Linked DNA regions of Homo sapiens: region 1 is linked to region 2. The links are contacts of gene promoters, found by promoter capture Hi-C in blood cells and fetal thymus (Javierre and others, 2016). All regions are on one chromosome and are shown on one strand. The core of a region is centred on a gene start or on the middle of the fragment in contact, and the rest is flanking DNA. Distances in the headings are between cores, read along the strand shown. Region 1 overlaps LSM12 (LSM12 homolog). Region 2 holds the start of SLC25A39 (solute carrier family 25 member 39).

Region 1 (6,135 bases), core at 424-2,923, 280 kb before region 2:
TTAAAAACGTTTATTCCTGAAAATCCAAATCATCTCCGAATGCTGGGTCAGAGAAAGCTGCTTCTATAAAGCTTGTGTTGACTAGATAGTCTGAACGTTCAAAGAGTAAAATGTCGTTGTCACCTACATAGCAGCTTAAAAACATAACATCACCCCATTTAGTAAGAGACAAGAGTTGGCTCAGGAAACCAGGCATCTATGCAGAATGTTTAAGAATGGAACTGACAAATTAAGCTAGAGAAGGGGAGAAAAAAAAGCTGGAAGAAGAGCCACTTGAATTTTTGCCAGAGAGAAAATAAAATGGATATAAATCTCAGCCAGAAGTGATTCTTTAGACAGGCTGAGTAACAATGACACACTGGTTATAGAACAATGATTTCAAAATACACCCCCCACCCCCGCCAAAATACCAGTTGTGCAAGTGCAATCTCCCCTAAAGTCTCCAAAAGCAAAGGAGAATGGACTAGACAATTCTCTATTTCAATTCTAATGCAAACATCCCAAATGCTAAATGATGTAAGGGAGCACTTAGAAAAGTCAGCAGAAATGACTGTAAGCTGACTGTATATATTTTCAGTTTGCCCCCAATATACTCAACCTACAGTAATGCTTTAGGGATCCGGACTCAGCTACACAGATCTGCTTTTACCAGGAAGCTGTACAAATGGGATAAAATCTCCTAGAGAGGACCCCATCAATTAGGGGTCCCCATCAATGGGGGAGACCGCTCTCAATAAAAGAAACTAGAAGTGTTTCCTTTTTTCAAAATTGAGGGTGGGGAGAAGGAGATTACCTTGCCCTTTTTTGTCATGAAAACTCATGCAGAACATGAATATGCCTTCTTTTGTAAAGCAAACGATTATCACTCTACCCTCAATTTAGCTGCTGTACAAATCTAAATTTTCCCACATATTTTTGCAAATGACTATATACCTATAAATGGCCCAATTATTCCAAGTTAGTAAGTTTATGGTTTTTGCCAAACCACTGGAGAGAACCAATAAAAGCTGCCCTCAGTAGAGAAAGTGTAGAATGTGCCTTTTAGGCTTGGGAGGGCCACCAAGATTACTTTTTAAAATCTATTTCTTTTTTTTTGAGACAAAGTCTTGCTCTGTCGCCCAGGCTGGAGTGCAGTGGTGCGATCTCAGCTCACTGCAACCTCCGCCTCCCAGGTTCAAGGGATTCTCCTGCCTCAGCCTCCCAAGTAGCTGGGATTACAGGTGCCCACCACCACGCCTGGCTAATTTTTGTATTTTTAGTAGAGACAGGGGTTCACCATGTTGGTCAGGCTGGTCTCGAACTCCTGACCTCGTGATCTGCCCGCCTCAGCCTCCCAAAGTGCTGGGATTACAAGCGTAAGCCACCATGCCTGGCCTTAAATCTATTTCTATAGTTTTTCCTTTACTAGATATTTCATATAAATGGAATGATACAATGTGTTGACTTACGTCTCTGGCTTCTTCCACTTAGCACATTTCTGAGGTTCATCCATTTTGTTTCATGTACCAATAGTTTTTTAAATTGCTAGGAAGCATTCCACTATGAGGATACAGTTCTACCTTTTATATATTCATTCACTAGTTGATGGACAGTTGATCAAAATCTGAATTGTTTCCAGTTTTGTTTTTTGTGTTTTCTGAAACAGAGTCTCACTCTATCACCCAGGCTGGAATGTAATGGCACAATCTCAGCCCACTGCAACCTCCACCCACTGGGCTCAAGCAATCCTCCCACTTCAGCTTCCCAAGTAGCTGGGACCACAGAAGCACACCACCACGCCCAGCTAAGGTGTTGTATTTTTTTGTAGAGACAGGGTTTCACCGTATTGCCCAGGATAGTCTTGAACTCCTGAGCTCAAACGATCCACCCACCTTGGCCTCCTAAGGTGCTGGGATTACAGGCATGAGCCACCCTACCCGGCTGTTTCCAGTTTTTGGCAGCAGTCACACACAAGTCTTTGTGTATGTAAAAGTAAAAATATTTTACTTTTTTTTTTTTTTTTTTGAGACGGAGTCTCGCTCTGTCTCCCAGGTTGGAGTGCAGTGGCGCGATCTTGGCTCACTGCAAGCTCCGCCTCCTGGGTTCACGCCATTCTCCTGCCTCAGCCTCCCGAGTAGCTGGGACTACAGGCGCCCGCCACCACGCCCGGATAATTTTTGTATTTTTAGTAGAGACAGGGTTTCACCCTGTTAGCCAGGATGGTCTTGATCTCCTGACCTCATGATCCGCCCGCCTCGGCCTCCCAAAGTGCTGGGATTACAGGTGTGAGTCACCATGCCCAGCCAACGTTTTACTTTTTAAAAGTAAAAAGATTTTGCTTTTTAAAAGTAAAAAGTCTCTGTGTGTGGACATGTTTTTACTTTTGTTAGGTAGATAACTAAGAGTAGAATTTCTGGGTCATATGGTAAGTGTATGTTTAATTTTTAAAGTAATTGTTTTCCTGCTAGTGAAGTTTCCTTAAAAACAAAACAAAATGGCCGGGTGCAGTGGCTCACGCCTGCAATCCCAGCACTTTGGGAGGCCGAGGCGGATGGATCACGGGGTCAGGAGATCGAGACCATCCTGGCTAACACGGTGAAACCCCGTCTCTACTAAAAATGCAAAAAATCAGCCGGGGATGGTGGCGGGCGCCTGTAGTCCTAGCTACTCGGGAGGCTGAGGCAGGAGAAAGGCGTGAACTCAGGAGGCGGAGCTTGCAGTGAGCTGAGATTAATGCGCCACTGCACTCCAGCCTGGGCAACAGAGCCAGACTCCGTCTCAAAAAAAAAAAAAAAAAAGGAACTGTCAAACTGTTTTCTTTTTTTTTTTCTTTTTTTTTTTTTTTTGCTGGAGTGCAATGGCGCGATCTTGGCTCACTGCAACCTCCGCCTCTGGGGTTCAAGTGATTCTCCTGCCTCAGTCTCCCGAGTAGCTGGGATTACAGGCGCCCGCCACCACGCCTGGCTAATTTTTTGTATTTTTAGTAGAGATGGGGTTTCACTATGTTGGCCAGGCTGGTCTCGAACTCCTGACCTCGTGATCCACCCGCCTCGACCTCCCAAAGTGCTGGGATTACAGGCGTAAGCCACAGCGCCCGGCCCTAATGTTTGATAGTTCTAAATCTGCCACCTACTCACCAACACTGGGTACTGTTAGCCTTTCTGATCTCAGCCATTTTAGCAGAAGTATAGCAGTTTCACACTGTGGTTTTCACTTGTACTTCCCTTTATGTCTAATGATATCAAGCATCTTATGTGCTTATTTGTAATTACTGTATCTTCTCTGATACAGTATTCAAAGCTTTTGCCCATTTTTAATTGGACTGTCTTTTTTTTGAGATGGAGTCTTGCTCTGTCACCCAGACTGGAGTGCAGTGGCACCATCTCAGCTCACCACAACCTCTGCCTCCCAGGTTCAAGCAATTCTCCTGCCTCAGCCTCCAGAGTAGCTAGGACTACAGGCCCACACCACCACGCCCAGCTAATTTTTGTATTTTTAGTAAAGACAGGGTTTCACCACGTTGGCCAGGCTGGTCTCAAACTCCTGACCTCAGGTGATTCACCTGCCTCGGCCTCCCAAAGTGCTGGGATTACAGGCATGAGCCACCATGCCCAGCCTGGATTGTCTTATTATCATTATTATTTTCTTTTTTGAGATAGGTCTTGCTCTGTTGCCCAGGCTGGAGTGTACTGGCATAATCATGGCTCACTGCAGCCTTGACCTCCTTGGCTAAAGCAATCCTCCCACCTCAGCCTCCCAAGCATCTGGAACCACAAGCAAGGACCACTATGCCTGGCAGGTTTGTTTGTTCTGTTTTTTTTTTTTTAATTTTATGTAGCGATGGGGTCTCCCTGTGTTCCCTAGGCTAGTCTCAAACTCCTGATCTCAAATCATCCTCCCACCTCAGCCTCCCAAAGTGCTGGAATTACAAGCATAAACCACCAAGCCCGGGCTGCCTTATTAAGAGTTCTTGGCTGGGCGTGGTCACTCACACCTGTAATCCTAGCACTTTGGGAGGCTGAGGAAGGCCGATCACTTGAGCCAGGGGTTCAAGACCAGTGTGGACAACATAGACAGTGTCCGTATTAAACACACACACACACACACACACACACACACACACACACACACACACGCAAATAAAAAGAGTTCTTTATACATTCTGGACACAAGTGCTCTGTAAGATGTATGTTTTGCAAATTATTTCTCCCAGTCTATGGCTTGTCTTTTCATTTTCTTTATGCAGCAAAACATAGAAAAATTTTTTCCAGGCCAAGAGCAGTGGCTCATGCTTGTAATCCCAGCACTTTGGGAGGCCAAGGCAGGCAGATCACTTGAGCCCAGGAGTTCGAAACCAGCCTGGTCAACATAGCGAAACCCCATCTCTACAAAAATTACAAAAATTAGCCGGGCACAGTAACATGCACCTGTAGTCCCATCTACTTGGGAGGCTGAGGCAGAGGAATTGCTTGAACCCGGGAGGCGGAGGTTTCAGTTAGCCGAGCTTGCACCACTGCACTCTAGCCTGGGTGACAGAGAGAGACTCCATCTCAAAAAAAAAAAAAAAAAAAGTAACCATAAAAATTCAATGACTATCACCCATACTACACCCATTTTCAATGCAAACATGCTAGCTGCTGGCCTCACTACCAATCAGTTAGAAGCACTAACTGGTTAGCATCTCAAAGAATAAAAAGCACCAAGTTTAAGAACACACTGGGTTCAGGCAAACCAAGAAGCATAAACTTACAAATATTTGTTATTAATGTGCATATGGCTTACTTGAAATCACTGCACATGACAATCTGTGCTTACCTGGCTCTCCTTTCATTCTGCATGATTCCCAGTGAAAACACAGTCCTTGTATACTAACCAGTGTTTCCTCCTGTGCCCGTTTTATATATAGCACCTTGATGTGGGCAAAGGAGAAAAGTATATGCATTCGATATCAAAGCACATCAATATTAAAAGGCTTCTAGGCCAGGCACAGTGGCTCATTCCTATAATCCCAGCACTTTGGGAGGCCAAGGCAGGAAGATCACTTGAGGCCAGGAGTTCAGACTAGCCTGGCCAACATTGTGAAACCCTGTCTCTACTGAAAATACAAAAATTAGCACCGGGCATGGTGGTGTGCACCTGTAGTCCCAGCTACTTGGGAGGCTGAGGCAGGACAATCACTTGAACCCGGGAGACGGAGGCTGCAGTGAGCTGAGCTTGTGCCACTGCACTCCAGCCTGTGTGACAGAGACTCTGTCTTTAAAAAACAACAACAACAACAACAAAAACAAAACGAACAAAAAAAACCGGCTTCTAATCATGCCTGATGCTGGGTAACCCTTATTTTTGTTTGTTTGTTTTTGTTTTTAAGAGACAGGGTCTCACTCTTCTGCCCAGGCTGGAGTGCAGTGCCATGATCCTACACAATGCAGTCACAAACTCCTGGGCTCAAGCGATCTTCCCACCTCAGCCTACAGAGTAGCTGAGACTATAGGTGTGCGCCACCACACCCAGCTACTTTTTTTTATTTTTGTAGAGATGGGGTCTTGCTATATTGCCCAGGCTGGCCTTGAACTTCTGGCCTCCAGCAATCCTCCCGCCTCAGCCTCCCAAAGTGCTGGGATTAAATGCATGAGCCACTGCGTCCCACAAGTGAGTGATTTAATGAACACCAAGGACACATATCTTGTCTGCACGCAGTGACATGGAAGGAAAAGGGAGGAGCCAAAAGAACAAAATCCAAGCAATATGCACTTCATCTTGTTATTCAGTCACCAGCTGGGCCATCTTATTTCCACATGCCCAGACCAGGAAGGCACAGGTGCCGTGGGGAATCCAGAGGGATTCCTACTACAAGTATTTAACAGGCTGAGACAGCTGATACAACAAGGGAAACAGAGAAGCCAGAGAGGAGCCTGCTGGGTGTGACCTACTGACTCCAATGAGCCACTCTCAGTTTGCCTTCTCTGTGTATTTGGGTCTTCCAACCAGCTGCCCTCACAGAGGGCTTAGGAAACACTGCAGCTGCTGCCCGGAACTGCTTATGACGCCTGCAAGCCTGGTGGGTGTCAAGGGATGGCAGACCAGAGTGGCAAAGAACTGTCATCGTAAGGGCCCTTGCATGTTCCCTATGTTTTGAATCTGGGGTAGGCTCTTGGA
Region 2 (6,148 bases), core at 2,185-4,684:
CGAGGTGGGGACAGAGGGAGGTCAAAGGCCCAAGACTATGCTCACGGCGGGCCAGCGCGCCAGCCACCATGGGTGCGTAGAGGTCAGAGGTCAGGGCTCGACCACACAGGAAGGCCTTCAGTTGGTCATAGGCAGTGAAGTAGATGGCGGTAGCTGGCACAGTCATCACCCTGGGGATACAGAGAGAGGTTAGCTGGGACTCCCAAAAGGACCCAAACTTTTAAAGCATCACCTGCCCCACCTAGCCATTCAACAGGGAGCAAAGGGTCAGGAAGTACCAGAGGAGAGTGGTGCAGGACCCGGCTACTCACAGGGTGGCGGGGAGGCCGCTCCAGAGGGTCCTGGTGCCCTCGTGCCTCACGATCTTCACGAAGGCATCCTGGCCAAGCAGGCACCAGCCCAGGGGAAGAGGAGGGACACAAGTGATGTCTGTGATGGGGCTGGCCCAGGCTAGGCCTTTGCCTGACGCCCTCAGCCTCTGCCCACAGCCCTCAGGCCTCCCTGCCTCTACACATGCAGTACCCCAGCAGCTGGGTCCAGGCGGACACCTGGTCACCCTTCAAAAACCTTATGGAGGCCAGGCACGGTGGCTCACATATGTAATCCCAGCCAGCACTTTGGGAGGCCAAGGCGGATAAATCACTTGAGGCAGGAGTTCGAGACCAGCCTGGCCAACACGGCAAAACCCTGTCTCTACTAAAAATACAAAAATTAGCGGCAGGTGGTGGTGCACGCTTGTAATCCCAGCTACTTCGGAGGCTGAGACAGGAGAACCACTTGAACCCAGGAGACAGAGGTTGCAGTGAGCTGAGATCACACCACCGCACTCCAGCCTGGGTGACAGAGCGAGACTCTGTCTAAAAGAAAACAAACACCCCATGGAGGTACTGCCTTCTCCGGAAGCACTTCCTGACGGAACCGGCTACCTCTGCGTGCCTTGCCCAATCCCTTTACTCCTGGGTCTGCTGCCCAGCCAGACCGAACTCCTCACGGACACCGACGAATCCCTACGGACCCAGCTGCTCCTCACCATGGTGCCAGTGAAGCGGGTAGGGTCTTGAAACCAGGTGGCACAGCGGGCACCATTTGGGCACAGGTACAGAGGCTCCAGGACACCATTGCAATACAGGAGGCACTTCCCTGTGGATTGGAGAGAGGAGGGCACTGGGGAAAGGCAGGGGGCATTATAATGACAGGATCCTAGAACCTTGCAGGGAGGCAGTGGGCCCCTATCCCTGGAAGGCCAGTAAAGGCCAGGTCCCTGTGTGGATGTTCTGGTGCAGGTCACAGGACTGGCTGGCAGGACCTGGGAGTATATGCTAGTCCATGGCTGTGGAGCCCACTGGTGCCCTGGGGACAGGGACAAGGACTGTCTCCCCCTTGCACCCTCCCATGCTCCCTGTGGCTTGGGGCACTCACATTTGGTATAGGAGAGGCTCCACAGTCTGGAGGAAGGCATCAGCTCTAAAATACAAGGCAGCCCCTCAAGTCAGGAGAGCCCCCACCCGCCCTAGGGACCCCATCTCTGGGAGATCTTTTTATTTTATTTTTTGAGATGGAGTCTTGCTCTGTCGCCCACCCTGGAGCATAGTGGCACAATCTCAGCTCACTGCAACCTCCACCTTCCCGGTTCAAGCGATTCTCCTGCCTCAGCCTCCCAGGTAGCTGGGACTACAGGCGCATGCCACCAAGCCCGGCTAATTTTTGTAGTTTTAGTAGTGAGAGAGTTTCACCACGTTGGCCAGGCTGGCCTTGAACTCCTGATCTCAGGTGATCCACCCACCTCAGCCTCCCAAAGCGCTGGGATTACAGGTATGAGAAACCACGGCCAGCCTCTGGGAGATCTTTCTTTTGCCCAGGCACCACCCCTCACTAGTTCCAGGTCAGGTACTCACCGCTGGCCATGGAGGGCCGCTGAGACTGCAGGCGAACCTTCACCACGTCCAGGGGTGTCACTGGGGGAGGAAGCGGGTCTGAAGGCTCCTTTCAGGACCCCACCCCTAGGACTCCTCCCCCAGGACCACACAGCCTCCAATCTCCGGTCTGCCCCATCCCCACCCGCCCCCACCCCACCTCCCCTAGGTCTTACTGAAGAGAGAGGTAACCACAGCCCCGGTGCCTGAGGCCACCATTTGCTGGAGGGGGCTGATGCCCGCAGGGTCCTGGTCAGCCATCTTGAAGCTTCAGTCCTGAAAACCAAACCTCAAACAGACCACAACTCCAGGGATGGCAGGAAAGGAGGCTGGGCCACTGTGAGACTTTTGTTTTGAGACGGCGTCTCGCTCTGCGCACTGTTGCCAGGCTGGAGTGCAGTGGCACCATCTTGGCTCACTGCAACATCCACCCCCGTTCAAGCGGTTCTCTTGCTTCAGCCTCCCAAGTAGCTGGGACTACAGGCGCGCACCACCACGCCTAGTTAATTTTTGCATTTTTAGTAGAGACAGGGTTTCACCATGTTGGCCAAGATGATCTCGATCTCCTGACCTCGTGATCCGCCCGCCTCAGCCTCCCAAAGCACTGGGATTACAGGCGTGAGCCACCGCACCCGGCCCACTGTGAGACTTTAACCCAACCCTCATCCACCGCCCTCGAAACATCTGTTGCCTCAACAACCCTGGCAATGACCTCTAAAGCAGGGACTGTCCGCCCCCCTCCGCCGGGGAAAACTAAGGCTCGGGGAGACGAGGTGGCCTGCCCAAGGTCACTCAGGAGTGGTTCCGAAGGAAGCTAGGGTGCCAGACCTATCGCTCGAATGCAGTAGGAGCCAGGGTCCTTCCCTCGTCCACCTCGCACGTGTCCACTGCGCACCTCCTACGTGCAGGCGCGGATTTGGCCCTCGTGGCCCCAAAATCAGAGTACCTGTGCTGCCCCCACAGCCCCCACTCCAGCACCAAGGCCCCGGGCAGGCACCTGAGAGCCCAAGTTACTGGGCGTGGAGGGACGGCCGGGCATCGAGGGTGACGTGTAAACAGATCCGGTGACCAAGAAGGGCCCGTCGCCTCCTCAGGACTGCGGGCTGGGATGCCCGGCCCTCCCCGCCCGGCCGGACGGGCCAGACCCGGGGCCCGGAGAGAAAGAGCAGTCTCTGGGTTCCCGCCCCAAAATGCAGGCCCGGGGCGCAGCCGGGAGAGCGGGAAGTAGGAACGTAGGACCAGGACGTCTCCCCGACCCTCGGCGACACTCCCGGCCCCGAACGGCGGAGAGCCGCCAGGTGAGGGGGACCACGCCAGCTCGACGGCCCCAGCACCTGCCCTGGCTCGCACGGCCGCCCGGAGACCCCCGCTTCCGTCTCCGCCCCCAGCCCCGGCCCAGTGCCGCCTACCTGGCTCTAGGCTGGTGCTCGTGCGGCGCGGCGCCCAGGGTCAGGCGGGCCCATACCGGCTCCGCCGCCTGTGCGCGGTCCGCGCGCGCTCGCAGCGCACCTAGGCCGACGCCGAAAGCAGCCAAGGGGGCCCCGCCCCTACACCGCGCCACGAGGCCCCGCCCGCCGCGGGCCGACCAGCCGCAAGCCCGGAGTGTCCCCGGCTCCGCCCACTCGCGTCTCCGCCCGGACCTGCGACGGTCCCGCCCCCTTGACGGGGCCGCGCGGGCGAGTTCCATGCCTGTCCAGCGCTGAGAGCTGCCGGCCAACTTCGCGGTCTCCACGTCGCGCTTAACGTGGCAGCAGCACGCACTTCCAGCATCTTTTTTTAGACAGCATCTTTTTCAGCCTCGCTCTGTCGCCGAGGCTGGAGGGCAGTGGCGCGATCTAGGCTCACTGCAGCCTTGACCTCCCGGGTTCAAGCGATCCTCCTGCCTCAGCCTCCGGAGTAGCTGGGACCACAGGCGCGCGCCGCCACGCCCGGCTGGTTTGTTACTTTTATTTTTGTCTCCCTATTTTGCCCAGGCTAGTCTGGAACTCCTGGGCTCAAGCGATCCGCCCACCTCGGTCTTCGAAAGTGCTGGGATTCCAGGCGTGAGCCGCCGCGCCGGCCTTAACAGCGCATTTTCACCAGCCCCGCCCCGGCCGCGCGCGGCACTGGAAACCCCAGCGCCTTCTGGACGGCGAGGGTGACGCACTGGCCCTCTTCCTCGGTGTCCTCAGGTGCGTGGCGGCGGCAGTGAGAATGAGTTCTTCGAGATCGCCGGGAGACCACACAATAACGACGAAGTTACTTGCCGGGCTACCCGCCGAGACTTGAAAACTTCGCGGCGACTTCTCTCGCCGGCCTTAGCATCGCCCCCATTTTTCAGGTTACAGGACAGGCCTGCAACTGCAAAACGCTTTGTAAACCACAGGGCCCCGCGCGGGTGTGCGCCACTGGGTTAGCTGAGCTGCAGCCCGGGCCGGGCGGGCTGGGACGTGAGCAAGCCGGGGGAGACGGGAGAGCCATGGGGAGCCAGATCCCACCTTCGCGTGACCTTGGGCAAATCACAACCTCGCCTAAGGCCCGGAATGACTCTGCGCGGAGAGGAAGAGCACTGAGTGCGGGAGGGCATCGACGTTTTGGTGTTGGTTGCTCTCGTATCGTGATTTCTTCTGAGTCTCAAAACTCTTTGCAGTAGGTTATTGTTGAAATAGATTACCACAGGCCGGGCGCGGTGGCTCACGCCTGTAATCCAGCACTTTAGGAGGCCGAGGCGGGCGGATCACTTGAAGTCAGGAGTTCGAGACCAGCCTGGCCAACATGGTGAAACCCCGTCTCTACTAAAAATACAAAAGTAGCCGGGCATGATGGCTGGCGCCTGTAATCCCAGCTACTCGGGAGGCTGAGGCAGGAGAATCGCTTGAACCCGGCCGGCGGAGGTTGCAGTGAGCCGAGATCGCACCACTGCATTCCAGCCTGGGCAACAGAGTAACACTCCGTCTCAAAAAAAAAGGCCGGGCGCAGTGGCTTACGCCTGTAATCCCAGCCTTTTTGGAGGCCGAGGCGGGCGGATCACCAGAGGTCAGGAGTTCGAGAGCAGCCTGACCAACATGGTGAAACCTCGTCTCTACTAAAAATACAAAAAATTAGCCGGGCGTGGTGGCGCATGCCAGTAATCCCAGCCACTCGAGAGGCTGAGGCAGGAGAATCGCTTAAACCCGGAAGGCGGAGGTTGCGGTGAGCCGAGACTGCGCCATTGCACTCCAGCCTGGGCAACAAGAGCGAAACTCCGTCTGAAAAAGAAATAGATTACCCCGTTTTACAGAAAGTGAAACTGAGGCTCGACGTGAAGAGCCGGAGATTCGAACCGGCCGGGTGCTTTTCCCAGGGCTCCACACTGCCTCCCCGGGAGACAGGAAGGCTTAAGTCCAGCGCTGCCCTCTCCGATCCCGCTTGTCAGGGAGACACTTTATTTCCCGGGGCAGCCCCGTACCCCAGGCCCCACCACCCACTTCGCGTTTAGAACTTCTGTGCTATCTTGCTTATTTGTCCTAACAGAGAAACCAGCACGCGCGGGCGGTGGCGGAGGGGGGCGGGCGGGCGGGTGGAGGCGGGGGGGGGCGGGCGGGGAGATGGGTACTCCTAGCCTGCGCCTTTAAGAAGGGTAGGCCTCGACTTTGACGTCTCTGCCTTCCCCGCCCTTCAGGCCCCCACTGGTCGCGTCCGGCGCTGGAGGAGCCCAGTCAGCCGGCGCCTGCCGGGTTAGCACGTGGACTCCGAGGGGCCAACTATCAGCTTTCCCTGACAAAATGCCTTTGAGCTCCCCCACAGCTCTGAAACTCCAGCTTGGGAGCAGGGAGAGTGCAATCTGTGACCTGTAAAGGGGCGCTGGGCAAAAGGGCCCGAGAGAAGGCGTCCTTTCCATTCCCTTCCCATCTCAAGCTGAGTTCAGAAATGACACGAAATAATTTAATCAACTATCAGTCAAGGTCGGGCTCACGCCTGTAATCCCAGCAGTTTGGGAGGCCGAGGTGGGCGGATCACCTGAGGACAGGAGTTCGAGACCAGCCTGACCAACATGACGAAGCCCCGTCTCTACTAAAAATACAAAAATTAGCCAGCGGTGGTGGTGCGCACCTGTAGTCTCAGCTACTTGGGAGGCTGAGGCCAGAGAATCGCTTGAGCCCGCGAGGTCGAGGCTGCAGTGAGCCGAGATCACACCACTGCACTCCAACCTGGATGACAGAGGGAGACTCTGTCTCAAAAAATAATAAATAAATAAATAAATAAATAAACTATCG

What was found. The method cuts DNA at HindIII sites, captures the fragments that hold promoters and counts their contacts. A CHiCAGO score of 5 or more calls a contact.
Region 1: a fragment that was not itself captured here is called in contact with the fragment with the promoter of SLC25A39 in region 2 in 1 of 17 cell types (naive CD8 T cells); the score reaches 5.6 in naive CD8 T cells.

The regions. Positions count from the first base shown.
Region 1 is chr17:44,043,951-44,050,085 of GRCh38, forward strand. All of the region lies in intron 2 of LSM12 (LSM12 homolog), which reads right to left. Among named protein-coding and RNA genes, the nearest start is that of LSM12, 20 kb to the right of the region's middle. The HindIII fragment of the contact is 3,208 bases long and covers 70-3,277 here.
Region 2 is chr17:44,321,389-44,327,536 of GRCh38, forward strand. It overlaps SLC25A39 (solute carrier family 25 member 39), which reads right to left and starts at 3,435. Exons shown (of 12, transcript NM_001143780.3): 1 at 3,323-3,435; 2 at 2,090-2,189; 3 at 1,896-1,955; 4 at 1,420-1,464; 5 at 1,031-1,164; 6 at 312-379; 7 at 46-170. The coding sequence starts at 2,174. LOC124904009 (a long non-coding RNA gene) reads left to right here and starts at 4,065. Exons shown (of 2, transcript XR_007065768.1): 1 at 4,065-4,233; 2 at 5,554-6,148. RefSeq lists silencers at 2,978-3,197, 3,218-3,647, enhancers at 3,748-3,937, 4,098-4,177, 4,228-4,287, 4,358-5,209, 4,468-4,517 and 1 more and a cis regulatory region at 5,182-5,859. The HindIII fragment of the contact is 4,927 bases long and covers 2,180-6,148 here.